Linked DNA regions of Homo sapiens: all the other regions are linked to region 1. The links are contacts of gene promoters, found by promoter capture Hi-C in blood cells and fetal thymus (Javierre and others, 2016). All regions are on one chromosome and are shown on one strand. The core of a region is centred on a gene start or on the middle of the fragment in contact, and the rest is flanking DNA. Distances in the headings are between cores, read along the strand shown.

Region 1 (2,767 bases), core at 72-2,571:
TCATGCCTGTAAGCCCAGCACTTTGGGACACCAAGGTGGGCAGATCACCTGAGGTCAGGAGTTCAAAACCAGCCTGGCCAAAATGGTGAAACCCCCTCTCTACTATAAATACAAAAATTGGCTGGGCATGGTGGTGCGTGCCTGTAATCCCAGCTACTTGGGAGGCTGAGGCAGAAGAATCGCTTGAGCCCAGGAGGTGGAGGTTGCAGTGAGCAGAGATCGCACCACTGTACTCCAGCTGGGCAACAGAGTGAGACTCCGCCTCAAATAAATAAACAAACAAACAAAAAACCTAGACAAACCTAGAGCTCCAGTTTGAACCATGGTATGTCATCTTTTCACTGGAAGATGTGCTTTCAGAAGCGGCCTGAACATTTGGTTTACCTATTAAAATAAAAACTGTACATACTTTATGATCTATCTTTGAGAAACAGACAAATCTGCAAGGAGCCGTGTGGATCTTCATTGTCATTTTTTGTTGTAGTTAAAAGTGTAAAGTCAAAAGCAATCTGGGTGTACATCAATGGAGAAATAGCCATATTCACTCTGTGATAGCCATACTATGCAATTTTATGAAGCACTTAAAATAGATATAGTTTGATTCATACTAAAATGAAAAAGAGCTCCAAGACACGGATGCTAAAAAAAAAGAAAAAAAAGGAAGTCGAAGGATGATACTATACTGTACTGTACTATTTAAGACTTGTCAATCTCAGGTTCTCCCACCAAAACAGCACAACACATGAAGTAAGTGTATAGGAAATTTCGGAATGATGAACTCCAAACAGGATATGCATCTGTAGCAAGGGCTACCTCCGGAGAGAAGGGTAGGGGAATGAGGCGGTCTTTGACCTTGACAGTAATTTATGGTTTTTAACAAGGAGAGTGCATTCTTCATCTATTAGTTTTGCTTTTGTTGGCTGTGAAAATTAATTTTTTGAGAAATAGTACTGATTGTGATTTCTTCTCTATTCAGTGAGGAAAGGGAGTGACAGGTAATGATTCTGTATCAAGGCTGATTAAAGAATAAAAGAAGGCCTTTCTGAAGATTAAAAAACAAATAAAAAGTTGAGAAGAAAGAGCACGAAGAGTAGAAGGGAACAATGGTGTACTCGCCAGCAATGGCAATACGGGTTATTAAAAAGAAGGGTGGGGGCGGGGAACCCTGGCCGACTCAGGACGCCACGGGAGGAAGCCACGCAAAATAGCAAACCGGGATCCTAGAGGGGCGGGGCCCACCTCAGCGCGCAGGCGCAACCAGGCCCAGGTGGCCGCCGCGGAAGCGAAGCCACCTATACGCGCCGCGCCGCTTGGGTCTCCTGCGCATGCGCAGACGGACCTGCGCTGGAGGCTTCATCTTTGCCGCCGCTGCCGTCGCCTTCCTGGGATTGGAGTCTCGAGCTTTCTTCGTTCGTTCGTCGGCGGGTTCGCGCCCTTCTCGCGCCTCGGGGCTGCGAGGCTGGGGAAGGGGTTGGAGGGGGCTGTTGATCGCCGCGTTTAAGTTGCGCTCGGGGCGGCCATGTCGGCCGGCGAGGTCGAGCGCCTAGTGTCGGAGCTGAGCGGCGGGACCGGAGGGGATGAGGAGGAAGAGTGGCTCTATGGCGGTACGAAACTTCCTGTCTCTGTCTCTCGGGTTCTCTCAGGCCTCCCCTCTTGGCCCTCAAACGGCCGGCGTCCCTGGCCTCTCGCGCCGCCGCTTCGGGCCTCTGGTTGGGAGTCCTGTCCGGCCTGACTTAGGCCGAGCGCGGCGTGCGCGTGCCCCCAGTCCCCGCGGCGGTCTCCCGCCTGGCCCACGCCCACCATGCGCATCCACCCCTGTGGCGGCCGGGCCGGGCTGGGGGGCTGTGACCGGTCCTGGCCCCCGGCTTCGCTGTGCTTTCCCCGAGGCGTCTCGATCGCCTAGCTGCTGCGCTCTTTACCCTTGTTTTTTTCTGTCGATTCTGAGGTGGTGGTTTTTGGTGTCTGTTTTTGCCCTGTGGCCTTAGGGTGCCCTTCCTGTCCCTTCTTTCAGAAACAGTCATTCTGTAATAATAGCTAAATAAAGTTAATGCTGTACAACTAACGTCTTGTTTCTTGATGGTCAGTTTGTATGGAATGCACCTGCAAGGGTACCTCCTTGTCTGAAAGTCGTGCTTTAAAAATAATTAATTAAGAGAGAGAGAGAGAAAGATGGCCCATAAAGAAAACTCTGAATGTCTCCTGTATTAAGGTGAAGTTATTCTTTTTTAAGAGACTACCGTTTAACCTACATCATGGAGGTATCTCATGACCCTTCGGCTTATAGTTTTCAGTGTCATCTCATGTATTTGTTTTTCTCAAAATAAATTTAATGCATCATGTACTTCTCTCTAGAAGGGTACTTGTTTGACATCTGGTTTTTAACTTTAAGTCACAATCCCTTCTTGCTTGTTAACACCAGATTTGAAAGTTAATGTTTGTTCCTTGCCTAAAACATATATTCTTGATTGTCTTTAGAATAGAATAGTAAAAGTGCACTTTGGGCACCATGCAGGTCCTTGATGATGTGACTTTGATAAACTTGTAAAAAAAAATCGTTTGGTGGCAAGATTTAGCATTAGTTACTACTCTTTGAAATGTGAATGTGTAGGATTTCTTTTACAAAGATCTGGAAATCTTCATTACCTCTTAAATTTAAGCTTATTTTTATAGCAGTAAAGTCTGATTTTTTTTTCCATAAAATAAGTATCTTGTTAAGTAATTATAAGGTGATCTAACTTTGGATGTGCTTATAGGCCCATGGGACGTG
Region 2 (2,767 bases), core at 164-2,663, 650 kb before region 1:
CTCCTTTACCTTTTGGGGAGGCTGATAGGGCTGCTTAAAATATTTGTATTAGGCACTGGAAGATGTAAACGGGACCTTATCCTATTTAAACTCTCTTTAAATTAGCTAGAAATGGGCTGGGAACAACAGGAACCCACCATTTAACTACGGCGGCTAATCCCCCAAGTATGGTAACATACTGTACTGCACCCCCTAAAAGTGTGTTACCAACAGGACCACAAACAAGTTTGCCCACTGTTTTTAATGCAAATGTTCCTTTCAAGATCGCAAACCCTTCAATACACAGGGCCTAATCCAGTCGCGCTTTACTACTACGGGTTACTCCCGCCAACTGGCAGGGGAGCCGCCCCGGGCCCCGCGGAAAAGGCAGGTGCGCGTGAGGGAAAGCATGAGAGCCCGGGCCGCGCCCACCTCGGCCCCAGGCACTACGGGTCCTGCGGGTCCCGCGGGTCCCGGATTCGAGGCGAAGCGGCCCAGAGCCTGCGGCTGCTCAGACCTCCTCACCGCGCCCACCTCCCAGCCACCTCCTGGCTCCAGGTCCAGAGCAGGAGCAGGACTACCGGGGTCCCTGGCACACAAGGAGCAGAAATACCTTGAGGGGCGGGACCAAGTAGCCCAGCGCTGGAGGAAGACCCGCACCCTCGCGGGAGTTCTGAGAGCCTTAGCAGGCCGCGACAACACTGGGAGACGTGTCTGCCAATCACCGGATGGGGGCGGTCCTGGGGGGGGGGTCATGCAATTGGCTAAGCACGGAGAAGCTCTCGTTCCATTGGCCATTTTTCCGGCCTCAAGCCCACCCCTAGGCCTGAATCCCCGTCGCGTTCCGCCGGTCTGCTTCTCGGCCGAAAGGCTGGGGAGGAGGAGAGGAAACGCCTGGGTTAGTTTTGGTTCCTTCTGCTGGCGCTCAGGCTGCTGGAAGAGTCCTAGACCTTCACCCGTGGTCCCTTGGGCCCGTTTCACGCCCACGTTCTGACATGTCCTGTGGTATTCTGTACCTCTGCCTTCTACCCTGTGTCCCACGCTGATCCATCCTAGGCAGGGAGAAGGCAGCGTCGCAGGGACAATGCCAAAATCAAGATATTTCTCTTAGAGCTTTCTAATATTAATACCTTATGTCTAGGTATGGTATACAATAAGCATATATATATTTTATAAATCTAAAACCACTCCCCCTCATTAAATCATCAAACTAGTCCCAATGAAGTAGGTACTGTTATTCCTTATTTTTCAAGCAAGGAAACATGAGCAGGAGGATTTAGTGATCGGCTCACGTCCTGTCATGTTTACTTCCTAAATATCAGCTGTATCCTGTCCTCATTCCTATTCCCTTGCTCTAATTCAGACCTTCATAATTGCTTGCCTGGATTAGTTCTACAAATAGCTCCCAACTCCTTTCCCGGTCATCCTCCAAAGCCAAAGATTAATCTTCCTAATGCAAATCTGATTGTGTCTCTTAAACCCTTCTCAAGCCTCTCAAATGTCAACTCCTTCTGTGGCACCTCATTGCCTGTAGGTTCTGGCAGAGACTGCTTTTTATTGAAATATAACATGACCACAGATGAGTACACAAAAATGCACATTCGGCTGAAATTTCACAAACTAATCACAGTCCTGCCACCAACAACTAATTTAAGAAACAGAACATGGCGGGGCGTGGTGGTTCATGCCTGTAATCCCAGCACTTTGGGAGGCCGAGGTGGGCAGATCGCTTGAGGTCAGGAGTTTGAGACCAGCCTGGCCTACATGGTGAAACCCTGTCTCTACTAAAAATACAAAAATTAGCTGGGTGTGGTGGCACACGTCTGTAATCCTAGCTACTCCGGAGGCTGAGGCAGGGGAATCGCTTGAACCCGGGAGGTGGAGGTTGCAGTGAGCGAGATCATGCCACTGCACTCCAGCCTGGGTGACAGAGCTATACTACATTAAAAAAAAGAAAAAAAGAAATAGAAAGAAAGAGAGAGAGAAAGGGAAGGAAGAAAGGGAGGGAAGGAAGGAAGGAAGGGAGGGAGGGAGGGAGGGACGGAGGGAGGGGAAAGAAACGAAGAGAAAGAAAGGAAAGAAAAGAAGGGAAAGAAAGGAAAGAAAGAAAGAAACAGTACACCAGAAGTATTTCCTTCCGGTAGCTAACCACTCCTTTTCACCCAAAGGTAACCGCTAGCCTGACTTCTAACAGCATAGAGCAGTATCCTTGTGTTTGTGCATTATATACATGTGATTTTTTGTGTCTGGTTTCTTTAACTCACTATGATGGTCATGAGGTTCATCCATATTTTGAGTATAGTCACAGTTTGCTCATGAGAATGCTGCAGTGCAGTCCATTTTGTGAATATACCACAATTTATGTATTCAACCAATTGTTGATAGGCATTGGAGTAGTCTACATTTTGGAACTATTAAAAATATTGCTGCTATGAACATTGTAATAAACGTCTTCTGATGAACATGATAAAAGATGATTGCATTTCTGTTCGGTGTATACCTACAAATGGAATTATTGGATCATAGGTTATATACCATGTTCAAATTTAGTAGATATTAAATATTTTAAAACAGTTTTTCAAAGTGTTTGAGCCAATTTACACTTATCAGCAACATATGAGTATTCCAGTTGTTCCACATTCTCATCAACACTTGGTATTTTCCATCTTTTTTCATTTTAGCCATTTTGGTGGGTGATAATTGTGCTTCAGGTGATTTTGATTTGCAGCTCCCTGATGATTAATGAAGTTGAGCACCTTTTCATCTCTTTATTGGCTATTAAGAAATA
Region 3 (2,767 bases), core at 79-2,578, 640 kb after region 1:
CCTGATATGCCACATTCTGAATAAGCATATAAATATAAAATATTTCTACACACTTCACAGTCTGAAGTAAAAGCTGTGAATTAGCACCATCTAATTTTGCTATAAGACTTCTTTCCTGCTTGACAGGTGAAAAAAAAAGCACTTGCACGTGCAGCTTAATTAATCATTGCACTTGACATCTCAATGATTTACAGTGAGGAGCAGGTGAGAACATACAAAACCAGAAAGGAACCCTTGATTTGAGTGGAACATTTCTAGCACACTAAGGTGACAAGTATATAGATTCTAGCAGTCATTTAAAAAAAAAAGGAAAGAAACTGTGCCACAAATTATTTGTTAGTAACAACAAAAGCTCAAATTAAATAGAAAAAAAAAAGGTTGAGCTACTGAGAATGTTTAATACTATGCAATTATTGTTAGTTAAGAAAATCAAAATATATTTTCAAGATTAAATACAATACCAATTTGGCAGATACTAAAAAAAATGACACTTCAGCATTTATAAAAGCTACTTAAAAGCTTTTAAAAGAAAGCACTTTATAATTGTAGTCATCTAGATAAAAGTTAAAGAGTTTATGTCCACAAGGCTGTCAGGTAGCTATTTCTAATGAAATGTAAGATTCAACAGTGTCGAACTCTACACTTGCTAACTGTGGACAAGCAAATCTAATCATATAACAACCTGTCCTTGGTTTTTAAATGTTTATTTCAACTCCAAATTCAAAACAAGCTGAAGCAAATTAACATGCATCAGAAAAAAATATGTATGGGATCTGTCAACATGAAACAAAGTACCAAAAAACACCATCTTTCAGTATTCCAGGCCAGTTTCTAAAAAAATAAGTCATCTTTAATTTTCTTTAAGAGAATTTAGTGCTTGTGAAAAGCACCAGATTGATAGTCATGGGAACTAAAAATCTATTTAGCTGAAAGAACAGGGGAAGGGGCAGTGCAGGCTTTAGTGTAAGCTTCCCTACAGTGGGCCTTAATCCTTTTCACTGCTCACACCCTGGGGGTGAGGGGACAGGTTAGCGGTTCTTTACCAATGTAATTCTCCGTCTTTCTGCAAAAGATGATCAACAAGAAATGTAATTTTATCAAGTATTCTTATCTTTAATTAAAAGGACCAAGACCACCAACTCACAATATGCAGGAAAAACAACTTTTTTGTGTGAATGGCGTCATGTTACTAACCTGGTCTGGAAGTAGACAGCTCCAAGCATCTGGATCCCACCCATCTCCCTCAGCTCACTTTAAATAACCCTTTTTCTTTAAAAAAACAAAAACAAAAACAAAAACAAAACACACATTTCTTCATTTCCACACCTTAGTGGTTATATTTTTCTCATTGGTGAACTAGTTTTAATACAGCCATTCAGCTTTGTGAAAGTAAAAATTAACAGGAGATTTAAAAAATATCATTTCAATTACTGAATAGGTATTAAACAGACTTAAGTTGAGCAACAAGTAGTAGTAACATAAGAATAGAAATTTTGGCTTCTATTTATATTGCCTTTGGTCCCTTTTAGATTTTTGGTAGAATTGTGAAAATAGGAAAAACATGAAAACGGAAAGAGAACTAAAAGGGCCTCAGTAATTCATAAAATGGCTAATATGGTAATGATTAATCAGCAATATTAGATAAGACATACCCAAATAAGACATACCTTCCAAAGAAGCATCTAAAGTAAGCTTATAACAGCAAAGCACACATACACCTAGACAAACTCAATTACTGCAATAGAAAACTAAGATTTCCTGAAAATTCAAATTTGAATTATTATGTATTTTTGTAATTTTTCCTAAATACTGTAACTTTCTTAGGAATAAATTATTAATATTATTCCCTATAAACAAATTAAATGCCATTAGATATAAATTAGTCTTCCAGGACAGCAAAGAGCCATTTAGAAAATCTTTAAGGTATTAATCTCCTACTTTGCCACCACTGGTTACTTAAGAGTTTCCTAATTCCCAATGACTCATTTAATCACAATCAATTGTTTGAAAACATGGTTTTACAAAGAAGTGGTTTTCTAGACATTACTAATAAAACCAATGGAAATCTCATAAATTTTAGAGTATTGAGAGCTAAAGAAAAAAAATGTTAAGTGTAGAAACTGTAACAAAGTTTATCTTAATATTTCCCAATAAAATAGTATTATCAGTCTTTAGAACAAAAATATGCTATGATATGCTAATAAAATGTACAGAATACTCACTAATAACTATTTATAAAAGTTCACCTATTTAAACCTATAATTAAAATGTATTTGAATTGGATTTATTCATACCATCACAAAATGGGAAAGCAAAATTTCAAATGTTCAATTCCCTACTTAAATTTTAAACTCTTAAATCTATAATGCATTAATTAACCTTTAACTAAAATGTTTTGAATATATTCATAATCTTGTTTTTAACTTATATTTTTCAAATAAGAATGCTATTCATCTTTAGACATCTGTGTAAATTGAATTTGTTAAGTAAAACAATGTCTTTAGCTGTAAGTTATTAGGGAGAAACCATATATAATTTAAAATGAATTATTTTAACATAAGAGAACTTAAGAGGAAATTATATTATTCACTTCTGCTCATTCTGGATTAATATGAAATTTTATATTCCAGTGATGTGCAGAAAATTAAATAATTATATCACAGTATTATGCTACGTGAAAAGCCTAGATTCACCAAAAAACAAAAAAAAACTAGAATATGATTTCTCAAAAGGATTTTTAAACAAATTCCTTTCCTGTACATTAAAG
Region 4 (2,767 bases), core at 160-2,659, 640 kb before region 1:
AGACTGGCACTGCACGATGTGTTAAGAAGTTTATAGACCATTTATTTGGCAAAAGGGTTTTTTGAATATCTTTGTAGAAATTATTAGGAAGACAGAAGGTATGAAAGGGCAGAGTATTTCCTTAAGATACATTTCCTGTGAAATTACTCTGCCAATGAAAATGAAATTTTAAATATCCTATTATACATGGTACATTTGCTTCAACCTTTCTGAAGGATAGTTTAATACAGAAAAAAAACTCATTAAAAAAGGCAACTAGGTTTAACATACATAAACTATATATGTATATATTTACACATCTGTTTAATTTGAGGATGTAAAATACTATTACTTTTTAAAGCTTTTTACTCTGAATTATATATTTAAAAAAAAACAGTGCAGAGAGATTCCACGTAGCCTTCACCCAAATTCTCCCAAGTGGAAGTCACTATAGCACAAAAACAAAACTAGAAAATTGACATTGAGCTGTGTGTGCCAATATTACATCATTCTGTGTCATTTTGTCATGTGTAAATTCATGGAACCATCACAACTCAGATATAGAATTATTATGTCACCACAAAGATCTCACTCAAAAAGTGTTATGTCCTAAGGCTTTCGTTTGGAAAACAGAAAAAAAAATCATCCACATTTCCTCCCAAACAATTATTTTTATTGCATATATTCCCTCACAGTTGTAATTACTGTATATCATAATATTTTCTTAACAGCAAATGCACATTTTCTTCACCTTTGACTTTGTACACCTCTAGGTTTTGAAAGCAAATCGACCCATGCTGCAGGATTATCACAGGGTTGTTGCCACCCCTGAAATATTCCTTGTGGTAGTACTGATTGCTGGTTAAGATGGCTACATTTAAATACTCATCTTCTGAAGCTTTCTGTGGAGAAATTAAAAAACATATATCTTGTATAAAGTCATAGATAACAATCAAAAGAATAAAAAGTATTTGTTCTTCAGTAGTCCATCTGTGTAACTATCATTAGAATTGTATGAGGAGCCTAGCCCAATTACTTTTCATGATTTAAGTGAATTTAGCATTTTCTTGTTGCTTGTACTTTGTATGTAGATTCTCTAGATGCCAATAATGATGGGTTAACTTTTAAAGAAGTGAATATATATACACATATGTGTATATACCTATATATAAATTGAGGAGACGATTTAACTTTTGAAAACGATGTCTTGACTGAATACTGCAAAGCCAAAGACAAAAAAGCAAACGCTGTATTCTAATTGGTTACTTTGTTTCTCATAAAGGGACAGGTTAGCAATTATGTAACTATGTTATGTAACTAGTTTACACATATAGTAGAGTTTAACAAATAAGCAAATAAATCTTAGCTAATAGGAGACAGGTTTCTCAGCAACAGAAAAGTTACAAATAAGCAAGGGGTAAGGTGAGGCTAGAATGAATCCTGTGGTGCTGAGAGTTGGAGATATCAGTATAAACTCGTTTATTTCAATAAACTGTAGGTATATATGTATAGGTATCTGTGTATACATACAAACATTTCCTAGCTGTGTCCACTGAGGGGGCCTACACAGTGATAACCTAGTAGCAGTAGCAATGAGCACATCTTGTGCCCAGATCTTGGTTTCTAAAACCATTTTTCAGTACAGGGAACAATGGTTTCTTGGGAAAAAAAAATCACTGATTCTAGGGCTGGGCAGGAAAAATAAAAGATGAGCTTGCAGCATATTGGAGCGCTGGAGAGTAAGGAAGTGCTGAAAAAAAAAAAATAAGGCCAAACAAACAAAAAACACATAGGGAGAGGCATGTCAAAAGGAAACAGGAACAAATTTTCCAAGAGCTCTCAAAGGCCAAAGCTGCAACACTTTGAGCAACAGTATGATAGTACTGGATTACAACCCAAAGAACAATGTATATATCCATGAGTCCACACTGATAAAAAATATTGGATAACAATTTTCCTTAAGTAAGCTTCTAATTAATAAATGTATCAGGAAATAGGAAGGTGAAACATCTGGTGAACCTTTGAGCTGGCTAATAAATGTTTTTGCCAACCAACCTATTTTGTGTTCCTTCTGATGCATAACAATGGAAAGAGGATTTTTTTCCCCTATGAGTTTTGAAAATCAGAAATACCTTTGTGTCCATCACCAGTAATGTTGAAACTATTTTCTATAACTTGTCATGCCCTACAAACCTTACTTTAATCAAATATTGTGCAGCTTAACACACCTCATAATCAGTCATGCTATTTGATGAAACTTTATCCTTTTAATAAGACATTTTCTAACATTCCAATGACTGCCCCTTTATTTCATATTTCCTCTTCACTTTGTATTCGTACTTGACATTGTGAAATGAGGACCAGGCCAGGTGCGGTGGCTCACACCTGTAATCCCAGCACTTTGGGAGGCCAAGGCGGGCGGATCACCTGAGGTTGGGAGTTCGAGACCAGCCTGACCAGCATGGAGAAACCCTGTCTGTACTAAAAATACAAAAAATTAGGTGGGCATGGTGGTGCGTGCCTGTAATCCCTGCTACTCAGGAGGCTGAGGCAGGAGGATCACTTGAACCCAGCAGGCAGAGGTTGCGATGAGCTGAGATTGTGCCACTGCACTCCAGCCTGGGCAACATGAGTGAAACTCCGTCAAAAAAAAAGGAAAGAAAGAAAGAAGGAATGAGAGAAAGAGAGAAAGAGAGAGAGAAAGAAAGAAAGTAAGGAAAGAAAGAAAGAGAGAGAGAGAGAAAGAAAGGAAAGGAAAGGAAAGAAAGAAAGAAAGAAAGAAAGAAAG
Region 5 (2,767 bases), core at 175-2,674, 620 kb after region 1:
TGGGACTCGCAGGTAGGAGACTATGACAGAGAGTAGACGAAGTTGATACGATTACAGAAAAGCAATTGCTAATGATAGGCTATGATAAATTCCCAAGATATGTGTTTATTAAATGTTTGATGAATGACACAGACCTGGAATCAGACTTTACCCATTCCTAGAAGGGTAAGTCGCTGAACTTAAGTCAATAATTCCTTTACAGAATTTCTGAGAGGACTTAATTATAATTTTTGTATAGTGCCTAAAATAGGACCTGGCATTGAACAGTCACTCAATACATGTTAGTTTTCAACTCCACTTTCCAAGTACAATTTCTCTTCCTCGTTCAGTTACTCAACAATCATTTCTTCAAAACAGTCTGTGCCAGGCACATACTGGGCGCTAAGATATAATAGCAAGGCTGATAAGAACCTGCTTTCATGGTATAGCAGGAGAAACAGATATTTTACAAATAACTAAACTTAATATTTATGTTCAGTTGTGATAAACACTGTGAAGACTGACCTAGGGAGATGTTGAAAACAGATTTTTAAAACTTTTAAACTTTTGTAAAAATGTTCAAAGAGAATCTGTTGTTAGAAGTTTAACATTCTGATTTAACTGTTTTGAATACGAAAAATACAAACTCAAAGTAAACATCTAAAATATAAGGCAAATCTATCCATATAGAAAAGGAATAAGAAGGTACTGACCAATGAAGTTGAAACAACACTGTCATATTAATCTCAAAAATGGACCAAACTGGCCTTTATTTTAGGGTCAGAATGCATGTGAGAGTTGGGCTCAATTCTTTTAGAATTGTTCCTTAGGATACTTCTTAAGCTTTAACTTTATGCCAGGCATTGTGCTAAGTGACAGAAAGAGAAAAGCAGCCCTTGGCATCCAGGACTTGGCTTGTTATTACCAGCTAGGCCTTGGTGTTCTCCTGTTGAACATAAACAATCTCACAGAAGACCATCAGTCAAGGTTACTCTGTGACCATGATGAAACAGAAAAGACCTCTTCACATCTTGTGTAATAAGACAAAAACAAAGTCGCAGTGCAAAGCACAAAATACTAAATATGAGTGACTGCTGCTTCTTTACAAATTACGGCTTTCACTTAGCTTCGTGTCTCCCACCTCCTAAATGAGATCTATTCAGACCAATCATAAAATTACCCCACTTCCTTACAGAATCGAAATCCAGTGCAAACTCTTGCTTGAATCCTTCCCAAATCACTCATCACAAGCCCAAATCCTGAAAGAAGGCCTTTCCAGCACTCAGGAATCCCTACAATGTATCTCTAGTTTCAACAAACAAAAAAACCCAACTTTGTTCAACTCCTTGTGTGTTCCTAGTGGTCTCCTGTGTTGAGTGGCATTACCAGTGGAATATATGCATTATATTGTGTAATCCTCATAAGTACTTCTTGAAACAGGTACTATTAACAAATCCATTTTACAAATGAGGAAATGGAGGCACAGAGCTGTTAAGTAACATTTCCAAAGCCACACAGCTGGAGAGTGGCAGAACCAGAATTAGATTCCAGTCTGACCCCAGTGAGATTCCCTGATAATGTTCCAGATAATTATTTAGAATTGTTAGTAGGCTAGTCTTTCAGTTTAACAAAGGGCAAAACAGTCTTTCTATACCTCTATTCCTTCGATCTTACATACTCTTTGGTCTCATTGCTAAACAGTGAAACAGTTGAGTTCTTTATTTAAGGAATTTTTACTTGCTAGCTTTACAGGTTAAAACAAATTAACATTGGAGCTTGCTAATTTTGGCTTATTTCAGGGTCAGAATGAGCTTCATCAATGACAGATTTGACCAGGTCCACTCACATTCTCAAAATCTTTCAATAGCTTCAGGCTAGAGTCAAAAAAATTTCAGCATGATACACTTGTCCCTTCTCCCTTTCCTGACCTTATCTCTTGATGCTTCTGCACAATTCATTAAACAGGTATTTTGTACCAGACCATCTCCCCATATTTTCCAATCATACAGAAATCATCAGTACTTTTTTAACACAGCCTTTTCATGTGTTAAGCTTCAACCCATGCAACCTATGACCTTTCCACCCCAAATATATTGCTCCTTTGAAGATCCACCCTATCACTTACTTTCCTTGATTATTAGCACTTTTCATACCATGTTACATGCTTATTCCTCCAGCCTCAACTCTTTAGAAACCAAAAGGCATTATTCTCTTTGCTATCCTTTATACTTGGCATGATGCCCGAGGTTGGGCCAAGCTTAGACCTTAGACCATTTCTTCACCAAATTCAAATGTCTCCCATTTCTTTAGTAATTGGTATGGTTTGGGTCTGTGTTCCCCCACAAATCTCGTGTTGAACTGTAATCCCCAATGTTAGAAGAGGGGCTTTGTGGGAGGTGACTGGATCATGGGGGCAGATTTTTCCCTTGCTATTCTGGTAATAGTGAGTTCTCACAAGATCTGGTTGTTTATAAAAATGTGTAGTACCTCCCCCTTCATTCTCTCTTCCTCCTGCTCTCGCCATGTAGGAAGTGCCTGCTTCCCCTTTGCCTTCTGCCATAAGTTTCCTGAGGCCTCCCCAAAAGCCAAGCAGAAGCCGTCATGCTTCCCGTACAGCCTGTGGAACTATGAGTCAATTAAACCTCTTTTCTTTATGAATTACCCAGTCTCAGGTACTTCTTTATAGCAGTACAAGAACAGAGTAACACAGCAACACATTTCTAGTTCTGTTACTGCACTCAAAAAATCTAAGTTTAATAAATTGTGCATTAGTCATAATGGAGGACAA
Region 6 (2,767 bases), core at 82-2,581, 540 kb after region 1:
AAAGGCACATACACTTGAATATTCATAGCAGCACTATTCACAATAGCCCAAAGGTAGAAACAACCCAAACGCCCATCAAAAGATGAATGGGTAAACAAATTGTGGTGCTTACACACAATGGAATATTAATTCAGCCGGTAAAGAAGAACGAAGTAATGATACATACAACAATAAGTAGAGCCTCAAAACGGTATGCCAAGTGAAAGAAGCCAGACACAGAAGGACAAATATCATGTGATTCTACTTATAGGAAATGTCCAGAATAAGTAAATCTGTAGAGACAGAATGCAGATTGCTGGTTGCCAGGATGGTGGGAAGAAGAGTGGAGAGTGGCTGCATAATGAGTGCAGATGGGTTTTTATTTTGGAGTGAGGAAAACAGATAGAAATGGTGGGTTGCACAACATTGCAAATGTACTTAGTGCCACTTAATTGTTCACTTTAAAGTGGTTAATTTTATACTATGTGAATTTCATTTCAATTTTTTTAAATGCACACGCATACATTTGTCAAGTAATCCTTACATAAACCCTGTAAGGTAGATATTGCTACCATTATTCCCATGAGAAAACTGAGCCCAGAGCTGGAAAGGGACCTGACCAAGGTTCCACAGGTGCTAGACTTGAAGCCAAGGTCAGGTTGGCTCCAAAGCCTTGGCCCTTCTGAGCCACCAACCACTGATCCTCTCAGAGCTGGGCATGACCTCAGGAGAACCAAGGGTGGCTGGAGGCTGTGCTCAGGAGAGAAGAGGAAGGGTCAAAGTCGGGAAAAGCTTTGAGGTCTCTTTGCGGTTCCAACTTAGCATCAGCAAAACTCAGTGTTTCTACCTTTTTGCTCCTGGTACTTTGGTTCCATCGTATGACTGAGTTACACAGGCTTGATCTTTGTTCCTCTTGACTCCTTTTTTCTTCCTTCATTTCTTTCTTTCTTTTTTCTTTTTTCTTGAGACAAAGTCTTGCTCTTTCACCCAAGATGGAGTGCAGTGGTGCCATCATAGCTCACTGCAGCCTCAAATGTCTGGGCTCAAGCAATCCTCCCATCTCAGCCTCCCAAGTAGCTGGGACTACAGGCATGCACCACCAATCCAGGCTCTTGCCTCCTTACATCAAAGAACAGCCAAAGACGGCTGGGCGTCGTGGCTCATGCCTATAATCCCAACACTTTGGGAGGCTGAGGTGGACGAATCACCTGAGGTCAGGAGTTCGAGACCAACCTGGCCAACATGGTGAAACCTCATCTCTACTAGAGATACAAACTTAGCCAGGCATGAAGGCACAGTCCTGTAATACCAGCCACTTGGGAGGCTGAGGAGAAGAATCACTTGAATCCAGGAGGCAGAGGTTGCAGTGAGCCAAGATCATGCCATTGCACTCTAGTCTGGGCAACAAGCACAAAACTCAAAAAAAAAAACCCAAAAAAAACAAAAAAACAGAACAGCCAAAGACCATAGATAAGGGGTGAGATTGGGGACTGGGAGAAGAGGATAAAGAGTTAGAATACTACAGAACACTAGACCACAGGCCCTAGTCTCCTATTTCTCTATCCTTCCTTAAAATGTCTGAAGTCTTTGACTCAGCAATGTAGCACTTGAGTGACTTGAATGTAAACATATTTTGAAAAAAGAGCATATTTTAGGGAGTTCCATTGCAGAAGATTTGAATGTGGTGTAATTCAGCTTGCTGGGAGAGGCGGGGTGGCTGGTGGGTGGATAGAAATGGAAAGATGGAAGTGAATGTGGCAGACTGACACAATAATAGGGCTAATGATTTCAACATTTTAAAAGTTTCACAGTTCCGAGGGAACACAGGAGACGAGCTCCAGTGGGAGGCTTTTAAAATATCCACTTTGACAGTTTCTGTACTTTTTGAGCTTCTTCTGTTTGTTTCTTCCCCAAAGCTTATTAGCACCTCTGTTCTATTTAGGAGACTCTCCGCCACCTTAGTATAGGGAGGAGAACTGGCTCCAGGGGGCTGAGCCCCCCACCGCCAGTGATAGATCTCTCAGGAATAGAAGATTTGAGTCCTGGGAGCCTGTCAAGGACTTTTCCTCTTGAAAAATCATGAAGCTTTGGTCCGCAACATTGTTAAAGGGCTTTAGAGGAAGCAGAGTGTCTCCTTCCACACTCCAAGTAGCCCAAAGCAACTGTGCCCAGATGGTAAGGACTTCCTTCCTAGCTGGGGCGGGCGGCAGCTGGGATAAACACTCATTTAAGCCACTCAGTGCTGTCCTCACTGCTTGCCCCAGGAAAGGGCCAACCCGGTATTTCTGGCTGAGTCAGTTGGGCCTCTCCCACCCATTCTTCTGAACCTCATTCACATCCAGAAAGAGGAGGCTGGAAAATTTGAATATGCAAAAGACCCAATGACATTGCCCTCAATCAGCTCAATTAGTGTGGTTGTGAATGAAGATATGAAGATCAAACAGGTCAAAGGGAATGTTTACAAATGTATCAGCTACCTGGTTTGCAGATCCCTTTGAACAGCTCAGATTTTGGTGCAGTTTCTATAGGTATTAAAACAGGAAAGATTAATTTAATAAGTGACTAGAGTAACATCTGGGGGAAAATTATATTCAGCTGTATGAGATAAAGACCATTGTAGAAGCATTTTCTTCAGGCACGCTCTGCTTTTTCTTTTGAAGGGCTCTCTTGTGCCTGATGTTTTATATATAGTATTAAAATATAATGGTAAAATATTTCTTGGAAAAAAAAAGATAAAAAGAATTGAAATTAAAGGGGATACCAACGATGTGTGTGTGAAAGAAAATAA

What was found. Contacts are between HindIII fragments. The CHiCAGO score rates a contact against its expected background, and 5 or more counts as called.
Region 2: a contact is called between a fragment that was not itself captured here and the fragment with the promoter of FIP1L1 in region 1, in 7 of 17 cell types (total CD4 T cells, naive CD4 T cells, non-activated CD4 T cells and 4 more). The highest score is 8.8, in total CD4 T cells.
Region 3: a contact is called between a fragment that was not itself captured here and the fragment with the promoter of FIP1L1 in region 1, in 9 of 17 cell types (total CD8 T cells, fetal thymus, naive CD4 T cells and 6 more). The highest score is 11.4, in total CD8 T cells.
Region 4: a fragment that was not itself captured here is called in contact with the fragment with the promoter of FIP1L1 in region 1 in 1 of 17 cell types (total CD4 T cells); the score reaches 5.1 in total CD4 T cells.
Region 5: a contact is called between a fragment that was not itself captured here and the fragment with the promoter of FIP1L1 in region 1, in 1 of 17 cell types (monocytes). The highest score is 5.4, in monocytes.
Region 6: a fragment that was not itself captured here is called in contact with the fragment with the promoter of FIP1L1 in region 1 in 2 of 17 cell types (M2 macrophages and monocytes); the score reaches 5.6 in M2 macrophages.

What each region holds. Positions count from the first base shown.
Region 1 is chr4:53,376,320-53,379,086 of GRCh38, forward strand. FIP1L1 (factor interacting with PAPOLA and CPSF1) reads left to right here and starts at 1,322. Exons shown (of 18, transcript NM_030917.4): 1 at 1,322-1,604; 2 at 2,754-2,767. The coding sequence starts at 1,520. It overlaps LOC105377654 (a long non-coding RNA gene), which reads right to left and starts at 1,421. Exons shown (of 3, transcript XR_007058118.1): 1 at 1,340-1,421. RefSeq lists enhancers at 1,040-1,588, 1,390-1,479, 1,530-1,649, 1,589-2,137 and a silencer at 1,810-1,899. The HindIII fragment of the contact is 4,469 bases long and covers 1-2,655 here.
Region 2 is chr4:52,721,724-52,724,490 of GRCh38, forward strand. No RefSeq gene overlaps it. Among named protein-coding and RNA genes, the nearest start is that of SNORA26, 9.9 kb to the left of the region's middle. RefSeq lists silencers at 270-409, 590-639 and an enhancer at 800-1,099. The HindIII fragment of the contact is 6,089 bases long and covers 1-2,767 here.
Region 3 is chr4:54,016,544-54,019,310 of GRCh38, forward strand. All of the region lies in intron 3 of CHIC2 (cysteine rich hydrophobic domain 2), which reads right to left. Among named protein-coding and RNA genes, the nearest start is that of CHIC2, 47 kb to the right of the region's middle. The HindIII fragment of the contact is 724 bases long and covers 967-1,690 here.
Region 4 is chr4:52,738,417-52,741,183 of GRCh38, forward strand. No RefSeq gene overlaps it. Among named protein-coding and RNA genes, the nearest start is that of ERVMER34-1, 12 kb to the right of the region's middle. The HindIII fragment of the contact is 1,069 bases long and covers 876-1,944 here.
Region 5 is chr4:53,992,024-53,994,790 of GRCh38, forward strand. No RefSeq gene overlaps it. Among named protein-coding and RNA genes, the nearest start is that of CHIC2, 71 kb to the right of the region's middle. The HindIII fragment of the contact is 1,209 bases long and covers 821-2,029 here.
Region 6 is chr4:53,918,125-53,920,891 of GRCh38, forward strand. No RefSeq gene overlaps it. Among named protein-coding and RNA genes, the nearest start is that of CHIC2, 150 kb to the right of the region's middle. The HindIII fragment of the contact is 1,124 bases long and covers 770-1,893 here.